7 separate regions of the Homo sapiens genome follow, and all the other regions are linked to region 5. The links are contacts of gene promoters, found by promoter capture Hi-C in blood cells and fetal thymus (Javierre and others, 2016). All regions are on one chromosome and are shown on one strand. The core of a region is centred on a gene start or on the middle of the fragment in contact, and the rest is flanking DNA. Distances in the headings are between cores, read along the strand shown.

Region 1 (3,357 bases), core at 252-2,751, 640 kb after region 5:
GTTATAAGTTTCATCTCCCAGACAAATAAACAAGCAGCCTATATTCCAGCAGACCAGATCTGAGTATGATCAACTGGCGCTGGCAAGAGTGCCTGTGGCCAGAATGAGTGGTACCTGTGTAAGTCAGAGAAGTGGCTTTGGGCAACAGCAAGAATGTTAAAAGGATGTTGCTTGCAGGAAAATCATTAACTTCATATTTGAGGAAACCTTTTGGATGTTTACTTAGGGAATGAGATTCAAAATTCGGGCTGCTATTGCTTTCTTATTCTCCTTACACTCTGTATCCAGGTTTGGTCCAATTTCAGAAAATGTCCTTCCCATTGCTTTGAATTTCTGTCTAGTTTCCTTCTACCATAGCATCTTTAACCAGAAGGAAGCCATCTTCTCTTACTATCCCACTTTCCGCCAGTGTGAGCTTAGAAATGTATTGTTCTTTTTCTCCCTCTCCCTCTGTTTTTCTCCTCTGGGGAAGCTTGGTAGGAAAAATCAGCGCTATAAATTGCAAGTTTTCCTGCTAAGATCCTTGGCGTATAGCTGGCTGCTACTTCACCTTTTTAAAAACATGATCAACATCCTGTGTCCTGTTAGAATTAGGTAACTTAAACTTTTTATCAAGGTTGATTTTTGTTTAGACCCTGGGAATGGCTCTGCATCATGGCATATATGCAAAAACAAAAAACAAAAAACAAAACCAAAAACAAACAAACAAAAAATCCTGAAGAAATAAATTGTGGAGACAAATGTTTATAAGTACAAATATGAACTCTGCAAAAAGGATTGGAATCCAGTGGCAGGTAGATAAGCTGTAAGACTGGACCCATAAGTAATGGAGGACTGTACCGAAGAAATGTACTCTGTACCCCAAAGCTTATAAAATAATTGAACAGGGGATGTGGAAAGGGAATCTGATATTGGCAACACAGCGTGTCTCTCCTGTGAGTTACTGGAAGTTTGAGGTAACTGATGACAATTCTGTCTGCCCTGATACCGACATTGTTGTTTCTCATCAGCTCCCTCCTCAGGACCCCCAACTATCTCTCCACTTTCCAGCACAGATGTCTGTATTTCTGGGCACCAGGTCCTTTGGAAATAACACTTTAGCACCTTTTAAACATTTGCTTCACTACTGAGTAGTTATTTGCACATTATTCTGTCTTCCCTCCTAACGAGAATTCTTTAACAGTCAGACTTGTTTGCTCAGCAACTACCCCAATGCCAGGCACAGAGTGAGCGCTCAGTAAACCCTGAATGAATAAAACAAAAGGAGTGGAAGAAAGCCTATCAGCTTGTGGGCTCATTTTTGTATCTCATAAATAAATGGATACTCCAAGACTTGTAAAAGAGGAACATTATGCCCTTGGGATGCAGGAGGAATCACACATGATTGTGTTAGATTAGATTGGGTTGGTTAGAGGAAAAAAAGAATTTGGCCTCAGAAAGCTATTTTCTTCAATGTGGGAGTTTGATGTAACAGAATCCCGCCTTTGGATATTCCTTATTTGGTTTCGGGTACTGATAACAAAAAGGACAAGGAGAAAGATATTTAGAAATGGTTTAAAAGATATTCTGTCCAAGCCACCTCGCCTCTCCCATCTCCCCCTCGACCTCGTTATTTTCCGTCCTCCAGGATGATCTTTCTAACTTCCAAATCTGATCATGTCCCTTCCCTGCACAAAACGGTCTCTATTCCCTTCAAAATGACGACTAGGACCCTTGCGCAGCTTGACAGCCCCTCGTGATCTTGCTGTGAACGCCCTCCACCCTCATCCCTACTCCCTTCTGCTGCTCCCTCAAACCTGGGCTGCAACCACCAAACGACTTGAAGTTTTCCTTACCCACCCTGGCTCCCTGTTCTTTACGACTTTGAGGATGGTGCTTACGTCCTCCACTTAAGCAATGCCCTTCCCTGCCTACACAGCTCCTACTCATCCTTCAAAATTTAACTGCTCCTCTGCCCACCATCTCTCATTCACTTTTCACACTGAGCTCTGTCCAAATCTAGTAAGGCTCTGCAATTGTCTCCTACACTCATTTCCTTCCTTCTCATCCTCTCTTCTCCCACTGTGGGGTGACCACGGTTACCCGTAAGGACAATACACTTTCTGCTTTACACCCCGTCCACTGCTTGTCAATAACAAGCTTTATAATCTCCCAATACTATAAAAGCTGAACCACATGAAGGAACCCTGGAGCTGGTTCCCTAGGGATGTTGGCCACCATGCTGCTGGCTGTGAGACATGTGATTGCTCACCTATGTCAGCACATAGATATGGTGAGGGAGAAGGATCTGACACCTGACCCACAGTCCCCTACATCCTCATGGGTGGCAATATTTTACCACCTACATGGGGTATTTTCACTTTACTTTAACATTTCTGCTTAGTCTAAGAAATCTCCCCCTCCTTAATTGTGTTTTTCAGAAAACCAAATGGGTTATTACATTAGTTCTGAGCAATGAGAGGGAAGCAATCCATACATATGGAGTGGCAATTAAATTAAACCCTAGAATTAGGATATAATTCCCAAGTGAAAATGAGCTGAAGGAGAAGTCTAATAGGAATGCCTCAACCTCTCAGTTGGCCAACAGACCCCTAAGGTGTCCGTGGTACTCTGAGATTTTTCTTCTCACACTTTGCAACATTCATTTGTGGGCTTGTCTTTCCGCTCCACCAAGCTCTCAGAGAATAAAGTGAAGTGCATGTCTGCCTTCCCACTTCCCAGCACAGTAGCTGCCTAGAGCACAGAACCTCAATACCAGCATTGAATTTCACAGTGAGAAAGTTATTTCCATTTCCATTCTCTTTTAATCCTTTTAGTTCAGGCAGAGCAGAAAAAATTGATTGTGTATTTTGAACACCCCTTAACATTTGTTTTTCCTCCCTCTTAAGCAGGCTTCAGTGGGCACAGTATCTACCTGGAAATGAGTAACTTGCTTTGTTTTCCTTGTTCTTTTTTTAAGGTTAATTTTATCCCAAATGGCAAGGCAAATGGAAGTAATATCGAGTTGCTTTTAACAAATGTATTCAAATAAAACTAAGTCTATTTGTGGAAAACTATTAAGTTAAAATACAACATCAGTAGAAATGGACCTGGCCAAAATCATGATGATGCTATATAAAGGATGAGTGTTTAGAAAACACTGGCATACAGTAGGTGCTCAATAAATGCTCATTTGATGGATAAATGAATCTCTCTTCCATCTTCTCTCTTCTTTCAATTTCTATAAGTTTCACAATAGATCTGGCTTGGCCTCAAATTTGTATTACTGTACTTGTCTCATATTCTGAGCTATAGTACTGTATCTGCTTTCTGCTCGGCCCCCACCGTGCATTAGCATGACCTACTCATAAATGTGCC
Region 2 (3,185 bases), core at 538-3,037, 590 kb before region 5:
CCCCCTGCCTCAGTCTCCTGAATGACTAGGACTACAAGTGCATACCACCATGCCCAGCTAATTAAAAAAAAAAAAAAAATTGTAGCTGGATGCAGTAGCTCATACCTGTAATCCCAGCACTTTGAGAGTCTGAGGCAGGAAGATCACTTGAGACCAGGACTTTAGGACCGGCCTGGGGGACATGATATGACCCCATCTTTACAAAAAAATACAGGAATTATTTGGACATTTTGGTGCATGCCTTGTTTAGCTACTTGGGAGGCAGAGGCAGGGGGATTGCTTGAGTGAGCCAAGGAATTCGAGGCTATAGTGAGCTATGACTGCACCCCTGCACTTCAGTCTGGGCAACAGAGTGAGCCTCTCTCTCTAAAAAATAAAAATAAAAATAAAATTTTCTTTGTAGAGATGGAGTCTCACTATGTTGCCCAGGCTGGTCTTGAATTGCTGGCCTCAAATTATTCTCCTGCCTTGGTCTCTCAAAGCCGTGGGATTATAAGCACCTTGATTTTCTTCTTACCTCACTGCCTGCCCTTTCTTCTCTCCCCACCTTATTAATATTGAAGTGCCTTAGGGCTTAGTTCTTGCCCTTTATGTTGTATCTTACTTCCTCACTTGGTGATCAGGTCCTATCTCATGGTTCTAAATAACATCATTACAGAAGTGACTCTCACAAGGAAGAGGTAGGAAATGGTCATTTTTAGTTAAATATTGAAAATGGTGCCGGGTTTATCTCTTGAAGTCCAGTTTTATCCATCCAGCTGCCCATGTGGCATCTCCTCTAGGATGTCTAAAATGGGAACCCTCATCTGCTCACTGAATTTTATACCACACATAGTTCCCCCTATCTGAATTGATTATTACTGTGTCCTTCCTGCTGCACAGGCCAAAAATCAAATTGATACTTGTATTTCTCATACCTCTCATACCTCTTAATCTGACAGAAAATCCTTTGGGTCCTATTCTCAATGTTTTATCTTAAAATGACCATTTCTCACCATTTCTATTGCTACCACCTGGTCTGGAGGCACCATTGTATCACCCAGATTACACTAACTAGTAGTTACTGGTACCTGTCTTTTCATCCCTGTCCATAAAAGGTTTGAGAAATTGGATTGTGTCACTCGCTGCTGAAAACACCCATGGCTCCCCATTTCACTAAGAGTAAACACCAAAGTCGTTACAGTTGCCTGCAGGGACTTACTAGCTCTGCTTTGTACTTCTCTGACTTTGTTTCTACTACCTTTCTTACTTTTTCACTCCCCTTCACTGCCATCCATATTCTCAGCTTAGGGCCCTCTGCTTGGAATGCTTTTCCTCCAGTTAGCCCTGCACTCATTTCTTCACTTCCTCCAAGTCTTGGTTATCTGTTGTGTTCTCAACAAAACTTAGTCTATTTAATTGCAACTGTATTCCTTCTGTGTCTTTACTGTTACTTGATTTCATTTCTCTGCTGTTTCTTTTTTCTCTATTGCACAAACCATCTTCTAACATGCTATAGAATTTATTTATTATGATTATATTTTCTTTCCCATATTCCTCCATTAGAATGTTAAATCCCTAAGAACAGAACCTTCATCTGCTTTATTCAGTTCCTAGAACAATGCCTGGCACATAGGTGCTTAAATATTTTAAAATTGAGTGAATCTGGCTGGGCTCACGCCTGTAATCCCAGCACTTTGGGAAGCCCCGGCGGGCAGATTACTTGAGGTCAGGAGTTCGAGACCATCCTGGCCAACATGGTGAAACCCCGTCTCTACTAAAAGTACAAAAATTGGCCAGGCGTGGAGGTGGGTGCCTGTAATTCCAACTACTCGAGAGGCTGAGGCAGGAGAATCGCTTGAACCTGGGAGGCGGAGCTTGTAGTGAGCTGAGATCATGCCACTGCCACTCCAGCCTGGGCACCAGAGGGAGACTGCATCTAAAAAAAAAAAAAAAGAAAATTGAGTGAATCTTTTAATTCTTTTTTTTTTTTTTTGAGATGGAGTTTGGCTTGTTGCCCAGGCTGGAGTGCAATGGCGTGATCTCGGCTCACCGCAACCTCCGCCTCCTGGGTTCAAGCAATTCCCCTGCCTCAGCCTCCCAAGTAGCTGGGATTACAGGCGTGCACCACCACACCTGGCTAATTTTGTATTTTTAGTAGAGATGGGGTTTCTCCATGTTGGTCAGGCTGGTCTCAAACCCCTGACTTCAGGCGATCTGCCCGTCTCGACCTCCCAAAGTGCTGGGATTACAGGCGTGAGCCACTGCACCTGGCCCATGAATCTTTAATTATTTTCCTGGGGATAAATTGCTAAGTGTATAATTATAGAGTCAACAGAAGTATTTTAAACTCTTAATGTAGTTTATGTTTCATATTGATCAGTTTTCATCATGCCATCATTATGAAATGATATGAAAACCCTATCAGTTGAAACCATATCAGTTGAAAACCGTATCAGTTTTCATTCATACCATCATTATATGGATAAGCAGAAAACCCCAGTGTTTAAAATCTTGCCTTGATTTCTGTGACTTTACAGTACATTCCCGGGTCTTTCCCTACTTCTGTTTCCCTACTTCTGGTTCTTTTTGACTCTGGTGGACATTTCTTCAAGTTATGTTGATCTTTTCTTTTCTTTTTTTTTTTTTTTTTTGAGACAGAGTCTCGCTCTGTCGCCCAGGCTGGAGTGCAGTGGCACTATTTCGGCTCACTGCAAGCTCCGCCTCCCGGGTTCACGCCATTCTCCTGCCTCAGTCTCCTGAGTAGCTGGGACTGCAGGCGCCCACCAGCACGCCTGGCGAATTTTTTTGTATTTTTTTAGTAGAGACGGGGTTTCACTGTGTTAGCCAGGATGGTCTTGATCTTCTGACCTGAAGATCCGCCCGCCTTGGCCTCCCAAAGTGCTGGGATTACAGGCGTGAGCCACCGCGCCTGGCCTTGATCTTTTCTTTTTATACTTTCAGTAAACTGATCCAAGCCTTAACTGTTGTACCTGTGTGATGAAGCAAATTTCTTTTTCCCCTCTTCTTTTTCATCTAATCAGATTCTAAATTCTACTCATTTCTTCCTTCCAAATTTCTCTTTAGGTTTCTTTTCCTGCCATTTCCTACAGTGTCCCTTCTTCATTTTCTGGAGTTATTACCTTAGCCAGATTACCCTTGTACATAATCTGATTTGTGGTAACTTCTTTGCAATTCGTTTATAA
Region 3 (3,293 bases), core at 651-3,150, 620 kb after region 5:
GGAGCTTGCAGTGAGCCGAGATCGTGCCACTGCACTCCAGCCTGGGCAACAGAGCAAGACTCCGTCTGTCTCAGAACAAACAAACAAACACTAAGATGAATAATAGAAGCCAATGGCACCTCGTATCTTTAGGATATCTCTGTCTTCTGTTGCATGTTTTCCTTTTTGAATTCTGTAGGAACAACTTCACCACACAAACAATCCCCCCAGGTTACTCAGAGTGGGAAAAAGTAAAGATATGGCAAATAAATCATAAATGTAGAGAAAATCTGCCCAGGTATTTCTGTCAATTGAGGGTCAAGAGCTTTCTCTAAACAAACAGAGAACAAGTTAAGCTTGACTAGGCTAATTTGAGGATCATATATCTCTTCTTCCTAGTTTAAGGTTTCTGGTTGAGTATTTACGCACAAGACCAGGCGTGGTGGCTGACGCCTGTAATCCCAGCACTTTGGGAGGCCAAGGTTGGAGAATCGCTTGAACCCAGGAGTTTGAGACAAGCTGGGAAACATAGTGGGACCCAGTCTTTAAAAAAAAAAAAATTAGCTGGGAGTGGTGGTGCATGCCTGTAGTCCCAGCTACTCAAGTGGGGAGAGGATTGCTTGAGCCCAGGAGGTTGAGGTTGCAATGAGTTGTGAATGCACCGCTATACTTCAGCCTGGGTGACAGAATGAGACCCTGTCTCAAAAAAAAAAAAAAAAAGTTAATAGCCGATGGCAAAATGACCAAAGGATGGCCCTTGAAAAGTTCTTGAGGACATGAGTGAAGGACCCCAGACCTAATAGCTCAGCCTCAGGGAAAAGTCACTCATTCATATCCCATGTAGGGTATCTCAGTCCATTTCCAAGCTCGGATCTTCCGGAGTTTTAGTAACTAACAGAGGCTGCTATTCCATCAGGGCAGAGTATTTTCTCTGGACTCCAAAACAGTGTTAGAGTCAGTGCCTGACCAAGTTCCTTCTGACAGCCTGATTTTCTTTCAAGACTTCCTACAATACAAAAATTGCCATATAAAGAGTCATCTTGGAAAGCCAACATGACTCTCTAAAATATCACTAATGTCATTTCAGATATTCCTAGAGAGATAGATATGTGGTTTAATTAAGAAACAAAACATATAGTGCTGGGTGCGGTGGCTCACGCCTGTAATCCTAGCACTTTGGGGGGCCGAGGCAGGCGAATCACCTGAAGTCAGGAGTTCAAGACCAGTCTAGCCAACATGGTGAAACCTCGTCTCTACTAAAAATACAAAAATTAGCTGGGCATGGTGGCGGGAGCCTGTAATATCAGCTACTTGGGAGGCTGAGGCAGGAGAATTGCTTGAATCCAGGAGGCGGAGGTTGCGGCAAGCCGAGATCGTGCCACTGCACTCCAACCTGGGTGACAGAGCAAGATTCCATCTCAAAACAAACAAACAAACAAACAAAAACAAACAAACATATAAAACACCCACACTGGACCTCATGAAAAAAGATTTTTGAGAGGCCAGGTCTTGTCTATTCCATGAGACATACTGCATCTGGGAGCGCTCATGACAATGTTGGCAATCTCTATCCATGCTTTGTGAAGCTCCTTTCTTCCTCCTGTCTCCCAGTTTCTGGATTGACCATTCAGGAATAATGATGAAAGGTTTTAATCAGTACAGTCACTCAAAATTTGTTAGTCTACTAAATTGTGACGTCCTTAAGGGTAGGGACTATGTTTCACCCACCTAGTATTTGGCAAAGTGCTATCCTAGTGGATAGTGGGAATTAAGTTAGTAGAATATTTACTCAATTACTTAATGCATTAATGCAAAATTTCCCAAAGTGGTTCATAGTGTGATTCAAGTAGCATCTGTTTAATGAAAACATGACTGTGTGGCAAAGGCCAGGCTGGGCAAGGCCAAGGAAAGATGCCCAATAGTTGGGGGGACCATTCCATCAGGGTGACCATTCCAAAGACCAGTCTTCAGAGCAAGGCAGGAAGCAGACTGGTGAACACTCCTTCTGACCTATATACCTTTGACTTCTAACTCTGCAACTCACTGGGCAATATCGTACCTTCTGCCGTTCTACCTGTCTGGAAGTAAAGTCTGGGGAGTTTGCCTAACCTGCTGACTACAGGATGCTTAGACAGAGGGCAATCCGCCTGGAAGAGAGAGAGAAACTGACTCTTGAAGGGACAAAAAAGGAATTCAGGACTTATGATACCTGTGGATAAGGAAGAACCGATAGGTAAAAAACGTGTCCACTGGTGACAGACTAATGAAACAGAAAACCTTGGGATTGCTTTGTATGAAGTTATGGTCCTAAAAGTAGGCTGTGGCAAGGAAGAATGTAAGAGGGTTAAGTATGTGTTTTTAGCAAAACTGTGGCACAAACTAACTTAGATGCAAAAATCCATTGCATAAGAAAGTCTCTCTCTACAAATCAGGTTCCACTGAGGACATTTTTGCCTTTCAAATACAGACTTATAAAAAGCAAAAACAAGATTCTATTAGGATTATAGACACATACTAACTTTTATGATCACATATAGTAGAATCTCAATATATAAAATGATGTGGAATAATGTTTCGAACTTTCCTTCTCAAGCAGTTTGAATCTTGGGTAGATATTTTCTGCTAAATAAAATGTGAAACTGGCAAGAGCTGAAAACATGAATTATACATGTTTACTCCAAAATATACAAGATTATTTTAATCAGGTATTCAGTATTTAATTATCTTTAATATGTGAGCAACATTCCATGCAAGATGACGTTACCTGAGGACAAGCAGAGCAAACGAAGAGCTGTTTAAGGCCACTAATGATGATTTAAGTTAAATGATGTAACCAATGATAATTTCTGTAAATTAATCATACACAGTGTGTTTTTTACTAAAATTTAACTGGGCTATTTTCAGCACAGGACAAGCACCTCTATTTTCTTGGAGGGTAACAAATTGCATCCAGAATAAATAAGCTAACATTCCTCCTTCCTTACTTGTATTTGTAAAAGAGATATTGAGATCTTGATCTTTTTTCTCTATGATGTGGGAAAAGAAGGTCATAAAAAATGGCAATAAACATTTCTAAATGCTAAATCTATCTTTCTGGTCAAGGCCAAATAAACAACTTAATACCATGGCCCTTTCTGTAACAAATCTTACACTCTCTTCTATCGTCTTGTCATTTTAAAATGAAAATAGGTCAATTTGTGATTATAAAAGAAAACACATTCTGTGACTTCTTGGTGAGCAAGGGCAAATGATCTAAAATCCTAAGGCCATTGGCAATGGGTAGACAATTGCTGGTGGCACCTACTATGGAGGTC
Region 4 (3,097 bases), core at 547-3,046, 660 kb before region 5:
TCTTGAACTTTTTAAAGGCTATAGATGGGGGAAAGTTATAAAATGGCTACTATAGACTAGGACCCATGTTAGTGTCCTAGAGATAAATACATCCTTCAGGCACTCCCATATAGAGAAAAAGGCTGACATAGGTACAGTTATGCTCATCAGATTTTTAGGTTTACAAAACCCTTTGGGCTACAGGAAAACATGGCTTAGAGGGGATGCAACTGAAAATGTTAGGAGACTTAAACCAATGTATACTAGAACTAGAGGGAAGGAAACAGGTTTAGGAAATGTTAAGGAGGTAGAACCCAAGGATTTCATGGCTGCATGTGCAAGCTTGAGGAGAAAGAAGTATCAACATGACTTCCATATTTTTGATGTGGGCAACTGAGTGAATCATAGTGCTATTAACCTAAAGGAGGAAAACTTAAAGTAGGGTGTGGTGAGATGTTGAGCTTGCTGTCTGTAGGATATCCAGGAGGAAGCAGAAGCTATAGATTCAGAGTGTAAGAAGGAGATCAGGGCTGAAAATACAGATTTGATGGTCATTAGAGCATATGTAATAGTTGAAGCCATATATGTGGATGAATGTGGAGGGGAAAGTGGCAGAGGATTGAATCCTAAAGAGTAACAACATTTAAGGGACCGGCAAAGGAAGGAGATTCTGGGAAAAACTCTTAGAAAAAGTGGACAAAATTAGTTGGAGAACAACAGAAGAGAATATGTTTATACATATATATATATATATATATATACACCTATGTAATATATATAAGCCAAAGTAGGGAAAACTTTTCAAGAAGGGAGAGATCAGTAATGTCATACAGAGACTAACAACTAAAATTGTTTTTCCTATTGGACAAGTAGTTTAAGTTAAGATGGGATGGGGTAAAATGCAACTGGAAATAATAAAGTTTATAAAGAAATTAATAAATTAGAGTAACAAAACATTTAACCTGAAAAGTATTTTAAAATAATTGCCAAAACCATTTAAGAAAAAGCAGGAAAATATAAAATGAGAAATAGTTTATAGAGATGGTGGAAATTTATTTGAATTATGAAGTAATATAGTATAAACAGAAATTTATGTTTAAAATTTTTTGATGAAATGGATTGTAACCTGAACAATAGAAATCCCAAAAAAGTCAAAATATGTAAGTAACCAGAAACCAAAGTGAAAAAGAGAATTTGCTCTTCAAAAGACTCCAATAACGGATAATTTCATAGGTCACTGTTTTCAAATACTGAAGACTGGATGATTTCTGTGACATGTAAATTATCATAGAGCATAAAGAGACCTAATTCATTTATAAGGCTAATGTAGGCCTCATACCACAACATGACAAAGATATTACAAAAAGAAGAAATTAAGCTAATCACACTTATGAATATGAATGTAAATAAAGGTTAAAGTTAAATATTTGAAACTGAAATTTATGCAGCAAATATTTTTTGAGTGCTTATGTGCCTAGTACTGTAATAGATGGTGATACTAGTACAGTGCAGCATCTGCCTTTGTGAACTTCATTTTAAGTGGGAAGATGGGCATGAAAACAATTTCTTCTATCATAGCTTTTTGTAATGTGAATACAGCGCACTGTGGATTCTCATAATACACTTAAGTACAGGCTCCTTCTGAGAGAAGTGATAGCTGGGCTGAGTTGTGAATAACAAGTAGGTGTTGGCCAATGGATACACAGAAGGATGCTCATGTTCATCCACATGCATGCACACACACATACACCTTGAGGACCAGAGACCAAGGAGTACAGCATGGACCGGGCATAGTGGCTCACGCCTGTAATCCTAGCACTTTGGGAGGCCAAGGCGGGTGGATGGCTTGAGCTCAGGAGTTCAGGACCAGCCAGGCAACATGGCAAAACCCAGCCACTACCAAAAATATAAAAATTAGCTGGATGTAGTGGCATGCACCTGTAGTCCCAGCTACTCTGGAGGCTGAGGTGGGAGATTGCTTGAGCCCTGGAGGTGGAGGCTGCAGTGAGCTGAGATTGTGCCACTGCACTCCAGCCTAGGTGACAAAGTGAGACCCTTTCTCCAAAAAGAAAAAACAAAGAGCACAGCATATTAGTAAATTACCATGAGTGTAAGTGAGATAAGGGAGAAGCCTGGAGAGACAAGAACCTAATTATGAAGGGGCTTGCCTTACTGGTTGAATTTTTTTGTATTCTTTAGGCAGTAGAGATCAATGAAGATTTATAAGTAAGGAAATAACAATAATTATTGTTATTTTAGTAATTTCACACTGTTGGCCTTTTGAAGAATAGATGAGAGGTGCATGAGACGAGACCATGCAATTAAGAGACCTATCAATATCCTATACAGTGAATAGTAAATGGTAGGGACCCAAAGCAAGGCTATTACAGTGAAGACGGAGAAAGGAGATTTAAAGATGGAAACAACAGTTTGGTTGTCCATTTGTATGTGAAGGTCAAGAAAGAAATCAAGAATGCCCAGGTGTCTTATCTTTGGCAGATGGGTATGTGGTGATGTTCTTTACCTTGATAAAGAATATAAAAGAGAAGTATATAGAAGAGAGAATTGTAGGTTGGGATATGCTGAGTTTCAGGTCTCTGGGGCATCAAAGTGGAGAATGTCCAGTAGGCAATTGGAGTCGGGCGGGCTATATGTATGTGTGTGTGTGTGTGTGTGTGTGTGTGTGTGTGTGTGTGTGTGTGTGTGTGTGTATGTACACAATGGAAATGTGTACTTTGGGACTCAGAAAAAAATGTTTAAGTAATTAATGCAGCTTTAGTAATGCTGACATGGAAAGTAGAAGCTGCTCAGAGATGAGTAAACATGCTTTTGACCAACCATGAGAATCAGTGGAAGTTCTGGTTACTTGAGTATCTGTTGTTGTTATTACAAGTGAATTTAAAACAACTCGTTTAACTTGTTAGTTACTGCAGATATAACATACCTTTAGAAAAAGTTCTTGGTGTTAGATCTGGTTTTGAGTTCTGGGCGTATGCTAGTTGTATATGTCACTACCCTGTGTTTTGTAGCAAATAATAATAGCTTCACTAAATTTGAACCCCTAAATTTTTTTTTAATTTCATATGTGTGTAGAATTATCCTTTAAAAAAAAGTCAGC
Region 5 (3,445 bases), core at 423-2,922:
GACTCCGTCTCAAGAAAAAAAAAAGTGTCTAATACTGCCAGACGCACTGGTGCGGTGTCTCTCACCTGTAGTCCCAACTACTTGGGAGGCTCAAGTGAGAGGATCGCTTGAGGCCAGGAGTTCCAGGTTGTAGTGCATTATGATCACGCCTGTGAATAGCCAGTGCATTCCAGGTTAGGCAACATAGGGTGACCCCATCTCTAAAAATAAAACGTATCAAATACAACTGAGGAACTAAATTTAAGTTTAGCTGCATGTGGTTAGTGACGATTGTATTGGACAGCACAATTCTAGAAACTTTTTTTTTTTTAATTTAGACTATCGAACCAAAACCTAAGAGTAAATATTGTAGAACCAGGTGTGACTTTTCAGCAATTGCTTTTCTAACACTATTGAGAAAATACACACAGTTATGAACCGCGTTTAGAGCTGTGCTGCTGGGATGGCGACCACCCCATCAGCATCATGTGTGCTTACCAGAAATTCGAATTATCCTCCACCCCTTACTCACTGAATCCTGATACCCGGTTTTGAGGCTCAAAAATGTTTTTAAAAGCCCTGTTATTATGCGTGCTACTGTTTAAGAACTGCTACAGAGTGCTGAACACAAGGTCCCTCTCTTCTAGGAATTTCTGATCAAAGATTTCTAGAATATAAACTCCCTAAGAGGCTTTGAATTCATCTCTCAGCATCCGGCACATGTTAAGGCAGTAAGAAGAGTTCAATAAAGATTTGCTATTAGATTGCCGATCCTCCACCATCCTGAAGTAATGCTATTTTAGTAATGCTAGATGAAGTAATGCTAGATTACCTCAAGGTGAGGGAAAATATCCTGAAGAACACAGCCACAAACACGATCTAGAACAAAACCTGAAAAACGTAGCTTTGTGTTTTTATTTGTGTGTGCATGTATGTGTGTGCGTTGCCATTTTCTTGATAAAGGAAAGCAAGTAGTTCGAATAAAACTTTCTTGTGGCCAAAAGGGGAATCAAACAGCCGTAGGCTGCGGCCGTAGCCTGATACGGCCGTAAACCTTATGAGGGTAAGCAGAGAGGAGTAGGTTAAAGAATTTAACTCGGGCTGTAATGCGGTTTGAAAAGAGAAAGGGATTCTGGAACGGAGAAGAATCCGCCCAGGCGCCGCCCTCACCTTCTCAACATTACATGAGACGAACCCTAAAACCTGTCTTGTCTGAAATTCAAATTTAGAAGAACTGTACTTTTACTTGCTACATCTGGCAACTCAGGGTTCGGCGCCAGGGGACCCCAAATCCTAGGCGGATCGCGCCCCGCCTGGGTCAAAGGGGACCCCAAATCCTCGGCCGATCGCGGCCCACTCGGGTCAAATTCCAGCGGCCTGCCCAGCCGCGCCCAGCGGGCCCAGGAATGCGGAAGGGTGGCGGAGCTACCAAAGGAGCGGGGGACGAGGGCCGGGCTGCGGACGACCGCCGCAGCGCAGGCCGCGATATCGCAGCGGATCGGAGCAGGCCGGAGGGGCAATTAAGACCCCGGCCGTGTGCGTCCGGCCTCAGCAGCCCCGCCGCTCGGCGGACACGCAGACCCCGCCGGCCCGGGCGCGAACACTCAGCGCACCCCCGTTCCACTTGGTCCCGCCGCGCCTTCCGGTGCGCCTTCCGGTGCGCCTTCCGGTGCGCCTTCCGCTCCGCCCCTTCAGGCAGGAAGTGTCGGCGCCGCCACTGTCCGGCCACAGCCTAACGCTCTTCGCTGTCGTTTGTGGTCTCGCGCAGGGCGGCCCCGGTTCTGGTGTTTGGCGTCGGGTGAGTCGCGCTCGACTCTGCTCGCGAGACCCCTCGGGCCGCCGTCTCCGTACCCCCGCGCCCCCTCCCGTCGCGCGCCTGCGGCCGGACCCCGCCCCAGGGCGGCCAGGCGGCGGCAGGACCTGTCAGACTGGCTGAGAAGGGGGCGCGGGGCCGGAGGTGGAGGGAGGAGGGTTGGCGGCGGGAGGAGGGTTGGTGGCGAGGCCCTGGCCCGGACGTCCAGGGGCCGGGAGGCTGCAGGCGATGGAGCCGGTATGGGGAGACGCCCTGCTGGAGAAGTGGCCGGGTCCCGGCCGTGCGTGGGCCGGCCCTGCGCCACCTGGGTGACCTCAGACACCTGGGCCTTGGACGGCCCGGCTGCCCGGCGGCCAACGCCTGCCCTCCCGGCGCCGCGGCGGGTCCTGGCGGTGGATTGGGGCCGACCCGGGCGTGTTCGTGTGGAGCACCTGCCCTGTGCCCAACACTATCCTAGATGCTTTGGAGGGTGGAGGAGCCTCCTGTTGCACGGTCTTGCCTAAGGTGAAGCCTCCAAGGAAGCCATTAGCATGCCGGTAACCGAGTGTGTGGTTGATACGGGCTCAAATGTGATGATTTACATAGAGTTGTAATTCGCTCAGTGTGTCTTGCATCTTGTAAAGGTTTAGTTTATTCGTGTTGATTGAAGAAAGGACCATTAACAGAAATAGGGAAAGGTTACTTGGAAAAGAGTCGTGACCTCACTGAAGGCCTTGGATTCAACCTTAAGAGGGAGAACTTAGCGTTTCCGGCTAGATGTGTGGGAGGTGGTAACGAGCAAAACTCAAAAGCTGGGAATTGTGTCCTGTGAAAAGCAGGCCGTGGGGACACCGGCGGGTATGGAACAGAACTGTAATGACTAATAGTCGGAAATAAGGGTAGATAGGTAAGTAGGACCTTCTTATGGATGTCTTGAAAACTTAGGAGAAAGAAAAGATTATCTAAGAAGCCATAGAGAGTAATTTTGGAGTCTTCACTAACGGAGTAATAAGAAAGGGATGTTTAGAGGATTCGTTTGGCCGCTTTAGTTTAAGGTAGATTTGGAATGGTCTTTTGGTAAGAGAAGAATCAAAGCATTTAGAATTCAGTAGGACCTGATAGATTACCTTGTGAAGGCTTTGCGTTTTATAACTGAGGAAAGTGAAACCCAGAGAGGTGAGGTAATTTGTCGAAGGTGGTGGACCCTCCTGGACTTTATAACTAAGAGCACTTTTGAGTGCTTTAGGCTCTTTTGAGTGAAACAGCTTTTATGATGGCTGACTCGATGTTCGTTTATGCTTTGATGAAACTAAGCTTGAACAAGATGAACTGCAATTTCTGAAGGACAGATGTCCAGACAAGAGTTGCTAGGGTTAGGAAAGAACAGGATTTAGAGCCCCGACATGGGGCTAGTTTTCCCTTTCTCCCAAGATTCAAAGGCTCCAGGTATATCTGGGGATGAGTTTATCATACCCTTTTTGCCAGCATCTTTGTGATCTTCCTTCCTCATTCTACACATTAGCTTTGGGGTGTCATTGCTTGTTATGCCCAGGTATCCACATTTTCATGGTAGAGAATTTCAGCTGCCTGTATGCAGGATGTTACTGGCTAGTGGTTCAAGCTCTGGAGCTAGATTTCCTGAGTACAGATCCTGACTGAGCTCTGCCATTTTCT
Region 6 (3,167 bases), core at 264-2,763, 580 kb after region 5:
ACATGAGCACATAAACAGGCACTATATATACTCATGGGAAGCAGCAAGCTTCACTTCGGACCTAGGGCCTCTCAGGGTACTGCTAGAAACAGATTCTGTTGAAGGTATTCAGCTTGTGCTAATAGTCTGTACTTGTTTTAAAGACCCAGGAGGTCTTTTTCAGAATGTATTTTCTTGAACAGCCTCTTTCTATCACCAACATGGCACTGAGAACAATAGAAAACAGCTCCTTTTGTTTCTGGGACACACCTCCTCTTTTCTAAGATTCATGCCTGGTTGCCCAGGGAAATTCCTCAAACCAGCCTTTATTCTGAGCTGATCACTCTCTTCTGAACAGGACATTCCGCCATCTGCTCAGACACCCTGGCTGTCAGCCCCACCCTGAATCACCAGGCATCACCTCCCTTCTCAAGGAGACCTCACTTCTCTTTATGTCTAAAGCCCCACAAATGGCTTTACTCCTTCAAAACCCTCTCTTTCTAGACTTCCTCTAGCGCCAGCGTTGCAATTCCTCTGACCACGTATTTAGGCACACATATAATATTTAGAGGGCCTCTCTACTCCACATTTAACCCTGTAATATCATCTTTTTTATATTAACATCTTATTCCTCTTTATCAGCTCATTTGGAGCCATGTTTCATTTCCCAAAATATCACCACTATATTCTTTTGGCTGTTGCATCAAATTACCATAAACCCAGTGGCTTAAAAAATCTCATATTTAATCTCTTACAGTTGTGGAGGCCAGAAGTCCAAAATAGTTTCACTGAGCTGAAACCAAGATAGCAGAGCTGGGCGTCCTCTGGAGGCTCGAGGGGAGAATCCATTTCCCTGCCTTTTCCCCTTGTCCCATGGTCCCTTTCTCCATCTTCACAACCAAGAGCAAAGCATCTTCAAATCTCTCTCCGCTTCCACGGCCACATAGTCTCCCTCTGCTTCCTTCTTAAAAGAACACTTGTGATTACATTTAGAGCCCACCCAGATAATCCAAGACAATCTCCCACCTTAAGATCCTTAATGTAATCACATCTGCAAAGTCATCTTTTCCACATAAGGTAACATCCTCAGTTTCCTGAGATTAGAGTGTGGCCCCATCTGGAGCCTCTATTCCACTAACTACGACCACCCACACTAACACCATTGTTAATCGAGTACTTACTCTGTGCCAGGCATTATTTTATGATAGGCACCATCATTATCTCCATTTTACAGATGAAGCAGTTGAGGCACAGAAAGCTTTAGTAATTTAGTAAAGTCATATAGACAGAGAAGTGGTAGAAAGAGCATTCAAATCTAGGTCTGTTCAACTGGAAAGCTGTCACTCATTCACGGAACACCCTGTTGCCTCTCACATTTTCCAGCTGACTGTGTGCGTCTGTGTTCTGGTTTGAATTAAAGGAACCTAAAAACTCTCATGGTCAACACAAAATGGAAAATTTCCCAGAAACTGCACATGTCTCTTCTCTAGCTGTACTTGTAGATATTTCTTCCACAAAGAGCATAGCTAATTAACTGGTTAAGTGGTAACAAGTAGCAGTTTGCTTCCCCAGTGAAATACCAGTGGAAGCCCCCCTAAGTAGTCTGACATCAGGCTACGGTTGAAGAACATGAAGGGCCAACTGAGTTCAGGCAAAGTGCTATGGAAACAGTAATCACAGAGCAGGTCCAGGAAAATAATGCCTGTTTAAAAGGACAATGGAAATGAAACAGAAATGTAAGGCCCAGCTACTTTCTCTGTAGAGAAAGTGAGAAAGGCTGAAAACTCCTGTAGACATAAGGCTTGAAGAAGAAAGCTTGAGAATAAAGAATACAGCACAAAGGGAAGTACTTTCAGTTTAATTTAAGGGAAAAATACACTCAGGGCTGACTATTGGAGATCAGAAGGCAAATGAACACTGGCAGGCAGTGAGAAATTAAGGATTTAAAAAATGATCCTTATACATTTTTAAGAATAAACTTTTTCTTTTATTCTAAGGAGGCAGTAAATCACGTGGAAAATAGAAAGAACTGGTCCCTGGAGTCAAACAGACTGAGGGTCCCATTCCTTAATATCAGCATCATACATGACAACTTGAGCCTCAGTTCTTTCATTTACAAAATGGGAACAACAACACGAAGATTAAGGAAATTATATGAACCACCTTAGCACAGTACTTTGCAGGAATGAGTAGCATAAAAAATCATTGCATCTGGTTTCTGCAACCTCAGCAAGACAAAAGGTAATACAGCTTGTTAAAGAGTCCAGCTAGCTACTAGTGCATTCAGAGAGAATTCACTCTGTGCCAGGCATGGTGCTGGATCACGGGCCACAACTATGAATAAGAGACCAGCTATGTTCTTTCATGAAACGATCTAGTGGAAGAGTCAAACAAGAAAACAGGCAATCCTACCTAAGATAGAAGAAGCATGATAAGGAAATGATGGGTGCTATGAGAGCATATTGGGAGAGGATACCTCACTTAAACTTGGCCAGTCAGAGAAGGCTTCCAGGAGGAAACATTATCTTAGATGAGACTGGAAAGTTGGGAAGAGGTTAAGTAGGGAAGAGAGGAGTTTGGCAGGGGTGGGGGGTGAGGGGTGGAGGGGGTTGTAGGCAGGCAGAAGAGACAAAGGAGGAAGCAGCTCATGCAAAGGTCCTGGGCAAGAGAACATGGCACTGCTAAGAAAGAGAAAAGCAGACCAGTATGGCTGAAATGCAGAGTGGACAGAGGGAGTGTTAGGAAATGAGATTGTGAAGGAAAAAGGTCCCCAGCTACATCATACTCTCTAAGTCATGTTTAAAAGTTTGGACTTTATCCCAAGGGTAAAGAGGAACCAGTGAAGGATTTTTAAGCAGAAGATTTAATGATTTTATCTGTATTTTAGAAAGATCATTTGGGCTATAATGTGCAGGATGAACTGGATTTAGGAGAAACTAGAGGCAGGAAGACCACTAGGAGATATTTACAATAGTCTAGCTGAGAAATGATGGAGGTTTAACTGGGATCGTGGCAAAAGGAATGGCGAGAAGTGGACAGAAATAAGATTTGGTGTTTTTTTTTTTTTCCACTCATTCATTCATTCAACTAACTTTTATGAGTCTGCCTTAGAGGAGAGACACGAGGGTGAGATAGAGAGAGGTATCAAGATTGGCCCCATGTTTCAGCGTTAAAAAAAAGCATAGATA
Region 7 (3,273 bases), core at 602-3,101, 600 kb after region 5:
TGCTACTGCTATCCACAGCGTCCATGCCATTCCATCTTGCTGACTGGTACTGATGCTGAGTGCATGGATGCGATGTGAATCTGAGGGTATTTTCCTCACAACAGTGCAGTGCTGCTTGCTAGGTTTCTTCCCCAGGGCCCGCTCAGCCCCACCACCTCTGCAGCCAGCTGCCTGGTGGCTGGGCTCGGGAGCCTGCAACCTCCCAGGCCCCTCTAGGAAGCAGCTCCCTGCTCTTTTCCTATCCTCATACCATTGGTTCCCCTGAGAAATGCTGCCCAGAGGTTAAATTCCTTTGGCCTGGCCTCCAGGCTAGACCATATCTTCCATCTTTGGGCAACTTGGGTACCTTAGAAAATAAAATCCTGTATTATCTTGTCAACTAGGAATAAATTCTGTTCTCCACTTGCTTATTTCTACCAGCTGAGTGGTCAGCTACCCATCTGGTCTTTTCCCTCCTGCTTTTATCTGGCCACTGCCCCCAGAGTTCAGTCTGGGTCAAACAAGTGCTAAAGAAATCTTGGTTGAATAAAAGACTCAGGGAGAATGACAGTATTATAAAATCATTTAACAGAATTTTTCATTATATGCTTGTGGACAGAAAATGTGAGGGGAATACATGTTACAACAGGTAGAATCAAGATGGGTTGAAGCGAAGAAATGCAACGCTTAGTTCTATTCATCTATTCATCTAATAACACCTTCAAAAACATACAAGAGATCAAATTGGCATGGTTTAATTTTAGGGAATTATTTCACTTCTCAGTTCCTTAGAAGTCCCTGTTAAGTGAATAATTAATATTTCATTCTTATGCATGGTGATATGTTATAAAACATTGAACCAAAAGGAAGTGGAGGCTTTTAAACATGCCATATTAGGACTAACCCTTATTTTAAATTAACTTCATCTGGGCTTAAACAAAGAGGGGAGAGAATTAAGCAAGAGTTTGCTATAGAACACTGAACTATCTGCAGTGTGATACATGTACATGAGGAAATACCCAAAACCAGCTAAGAAGAAGGATTATGAAGACTACATTGACTTTGACTTCTAAGTTCATCACTGAGAATGGCACCTTTATTCTGATAGACTTCCGAAGTCTTACTATTCTGCATTGTTGTCTGTTATAAGGATTTAATATAAACTCTACTGATATTCTCTAACAGCACCGTTTATGCACTGGATACCTGCAGCCACCTCTAAGGTGGCACATGTAACTGTTCCACCTTGGATAGTATATGACTCACTAATTCAATTTTACTTTGATGGGTAATTACGCAACATTCTAAGGGTAGATCTTTAGAGAAACATATCTTTTCCTTCAAACCTGGACTAGTAATTTAACAAATAGTAAAATGGGTAAATCTCCCAAACACTTAGTTAACACTCTGGGATATATGAGGCTCATGTACCAAGCAGAATTCTGGTTCACAGTAGGCTGAGAGATAACCATCTGGTCTCCCAAAAAGTAAGGACAGACAAAATATAAAATCACACTGACTTATCTCTGTAAGTCTGGATTTTGGGTTTGGGTTTAATTTAATTGGGTTTGAAGACTCCTAGTTTACTTCCTAATCATTTCAGAAGCAGACATTCCAAAATTAAATTAAGCAAAGAATATTAAATGGGCAGACAGTGCATATTTGTCCGTAAGAACCTTACAGTGTTATTAACAATGTTATAACTACAATTAGGCTGGCAGTCTCATGGGGTCAGTAGTATTGTTTCTTGTTGAAACAGACAAGCAAATAAACACAAGGAGCCTTGAGTAAAGGTTCTTTCATAGGTTGAGATATACATTTCCACTGACATGAAATAATGTCCTATTACAACCTTTTTATATATCTCACTTTGCAAATCAACCTCATATATTACTTGTTTTCAAACATGACTACTTTCCAAACTAGATTTAGTTTTACACCTAATCATAGAAGTAGAACCTGTTTTTTAAACCATAATTATTCATTTTTAATTGTTATTAAAAGAAATTCTCATTTAAAAATCCTTCAAGAGAAGACCAAAGGAAATATTTGCAAAGCAGAGGCATCATGTTATGGTGGAAAGCAAACAGATTGTGGAATCAGACAGGCCAGAGTTTAAATCTCAGTTTTGTCACTTACTAGGAGAATAATCTTGAGCAAATTTAATACCCTCCTTTTCATATAAAACAGGGGTCAGAACGGCTACCCCAGAAACTTCCAGAAATAAAGACAATGTAAGAAGAACAATGTATGGTAAACACAAGTCCATAGAACCTTCTTAGTAAGTTAAAGTTCTTCTTACTCTCCTTCTTGTTCCCTTTACCCCATCTTCATCTTATTCTTAGTCATGGTCACATAAAAGTGGATCCAGCATGGGATGGAGATGAAAAGATGTTCAGTATGGTGCTGTGGAAAGAGCACTAGCCTGGGAGTCAAGGGGCCTGTGTGTTCCTAAAAAAGTCAATTCCTCTTTTTTTGGGTCACAGCTGGAGAAAAGGTATGAAGGTAACATAAGAATTTGTCTATCAGAGCTTAAAGCCCAAAAGTGATTTTGTAGTCTGAGTCAATCAGGAACTCCTGGAGTCCCAGGATCAATTGCTGTCTTTTTAATGAAGGGCAGGGCACCAGGGCTGCAGTCTGGACTGCTGCTGCTGCTGCTAATACAACTTACCACACTGGGGACGGATAACTTTCCAAGCTCAGAATACAGATCCCAATTTTTTGGGGGGAACTTATCAGAGTTTTCCGATTGATCTCATTTATTAAGAGTGGGCTTATTAAGAACAGATACAGAAGTTTCCCTCCTGGATCATTAAACTCTTTCTTAGACAGCTTAGATTGATTAATAGGGAAGGAATGGGCAGTAGTTTTCAAATTATAGACAGCCCAGGTACAGGGTGGGGTGGGGTGGCTTGGGGAGAGAATTTAGATTTGAAACCTCCTGTTCTTGCGTCCATGTGAGTAGTGCTGTTTTAAATTGTTTTACATGTTTTGCTTTATTTGAACACAGACTTTGGTGGTTAAAAAGTACAAAATGCACTGGGCTAAGTGATACTTTGAGTTGTTCCAGACACCTGCTTCTATTGATGGTGTGTGTTCTTGGAAAATTAATAAAGAAAGGCATAATGAGATGCTCTTTCTAGAAACTTTAGCAATAGACAGGGCGTAGGCCACAGCAAATTAGATCCAGCCACCAGAGTGGAAAGGGCAGGGGCTGGGACTGGAAGGAAATGTCTTGAATATCCATCAAGTGTGGAATTAGTGTTATTTTTTATTTTATTTATATATATTTTT

What was found. The method cuts DNA at HindIII sites, captures the fragments that hold promoters and counts their contacts. A CHiCAGO score of 5 or more calls a contact.
Region 1: a contact is called between a fragment that was not itself captured here and the fragment with the promoter of MYL12B in region 5, in 1 of 17 cell types (erythroblasts). The highest score is 6.0, in erythroblasts.
Region 2: a contact is called between a fragment that was not itself captured here and the fragment with the promoter of MYL12B in region 5, in 1 of 17 cell types (neutrophils). The highest score is 6.9, in neutrophils.
Region 3: a fragment that was not itself captured here is called in contact with the fragment with the promoter of MYL12B in region 5 in 4 of 17 cell types (monocytes, erythroblasts, M1 macrophages and 1 more); the score reaches 6.8 in monocytes.
Region 4: a contact is called between a fragment that was not itself captured here and the fragment with the promoter of MYL12B in region 5, in 3 of 17 cell types (activated CD4 T cells, neutrophils and naive CD4 T cells). The highest score is 5.6, in activated CD4 T cells.
Region 6: a contact is called between a fragment that was not itself captured here and the fragment with the promoter of MYL12B in region 5, in 1 of 17 cell types (M0 macrophages). The highest score is 5.6, in M0 macrophages.
Region 7: a fragment that was not itself captured here is called in contact with the fragment with the promoter of MYL12B in region 5 in 4 of 17 cell types (erythroblasts, M1 macrophages, M2 macrophages and 1 more); the score reaches 7.1 in erythroblasts.

The regions. Positions count from the first base shown.
Region 1 is chr18:3,899,314-3,902,670 of GRCh38, forward strand. All of the region lies in intron 3 of DLGAP1 (DLG associated protein 1), which reads right to left. Among named protein-coding and RNA genes, the nearest start is that of MIR6718, 16 kb to the left of the region's middle. The HindIII fragment of the contact is 1,272 bases long and covers 866-2,137 here.
Region 2 is chr18:2,668,981-2,672,165 of GRCh38, forward strand. All of the region lies in intron 3 of SMCHD1 (structural maintenance of chromosomes flexible hinge domain containing 1), which reads left to right. Among named protein-coding and RNA genes, the nearest start is that of SMCHD1, 15 kb to the left of the region's middle. The HindIII fragment of the contact is 3,598 bases long and covers 1-3,185 here.
Region 3 is chr18:3,881,845-3,885,137 of GRCh38, forward strand. All of the region lies in intron 3 of DLGAP1 (DLG associated protein 1), which reads right to left. All of the region lies in intron 1 of DLGAP1-AS3 (DLGAP1 antisense RNA 3), which reads left to right. All of the region lies in intron 2 of LOC124904238 (a long non-coding RNA gene), which reads left to right. Among named protein-coding and RNA genes, the nearest start is that of MIR6718, 1.9 kb to the right of the region's middle. The HindIII fragment of the contact is 3,134 bases long and covers 334-3,293 here.
Region 4 is chr18:2,602,640-2,605,736 of GRCh38, forward strand. All of the region lies in intron 13 of NDC80 (NDC80 kinetochore complex component), which reads left to right. Among named protein-coding and RNA genes, the nearest start is that of NDC80, 33 kb to the left of the region's middle. The HindIII fragment of the contact is 2,954 bases long and covers 320-3,097 here.
Region 5 is chr18:3,260,461-3,263,905 of GRCh38, forward strand. MYL12B (myosin light chain 12B) reads left to right here and starts at 1,673. Exons shown (of 4, transcript NM_033546.4): 1 at 1,673-1,777. MYL12-AS1 (MYL12A and MYL12B antisense RNA 1) reads right to left here and starts at 1,899. Exons shown (of 4, transcript NR_130145.1): 1 at 1,593-1,899; 2 at 812-870. RefSeq lists an enhancer at 1,069-1,118 and a silencer at 1,329-2,218. The HindIII fragment of the contact is 3,443 bases long and covers 1-3,083 here.
Region 6 is chr18:3,839,551-3,842,717 of GRCh38, forward strand. All of the region lies in intron 4 of DLGAP1 (DLG associated protein 1), which reads right to left. Among named protein-coding and RNA genes, the nearest start is that of DLGAP1-AS3, 37 kb to the right of the region's middle. The HindIII fragment of the contact is 557 bases long and covers 1,236-1,792 here.
Region 7 is chr18:3,863,595-3,866,867 of GRCh38, forward strand. All of the region lies in intron 4 of DLGAP1 (DLG associated protein 1), which reads right to left. Among named protein-coding and RNA genes, the nearest start is that of DLGAP1-AS3, 13 kb to the right of the region's middle. The HindIII fragment of the contact is 7,229 bases long and covers 1-3,273 here.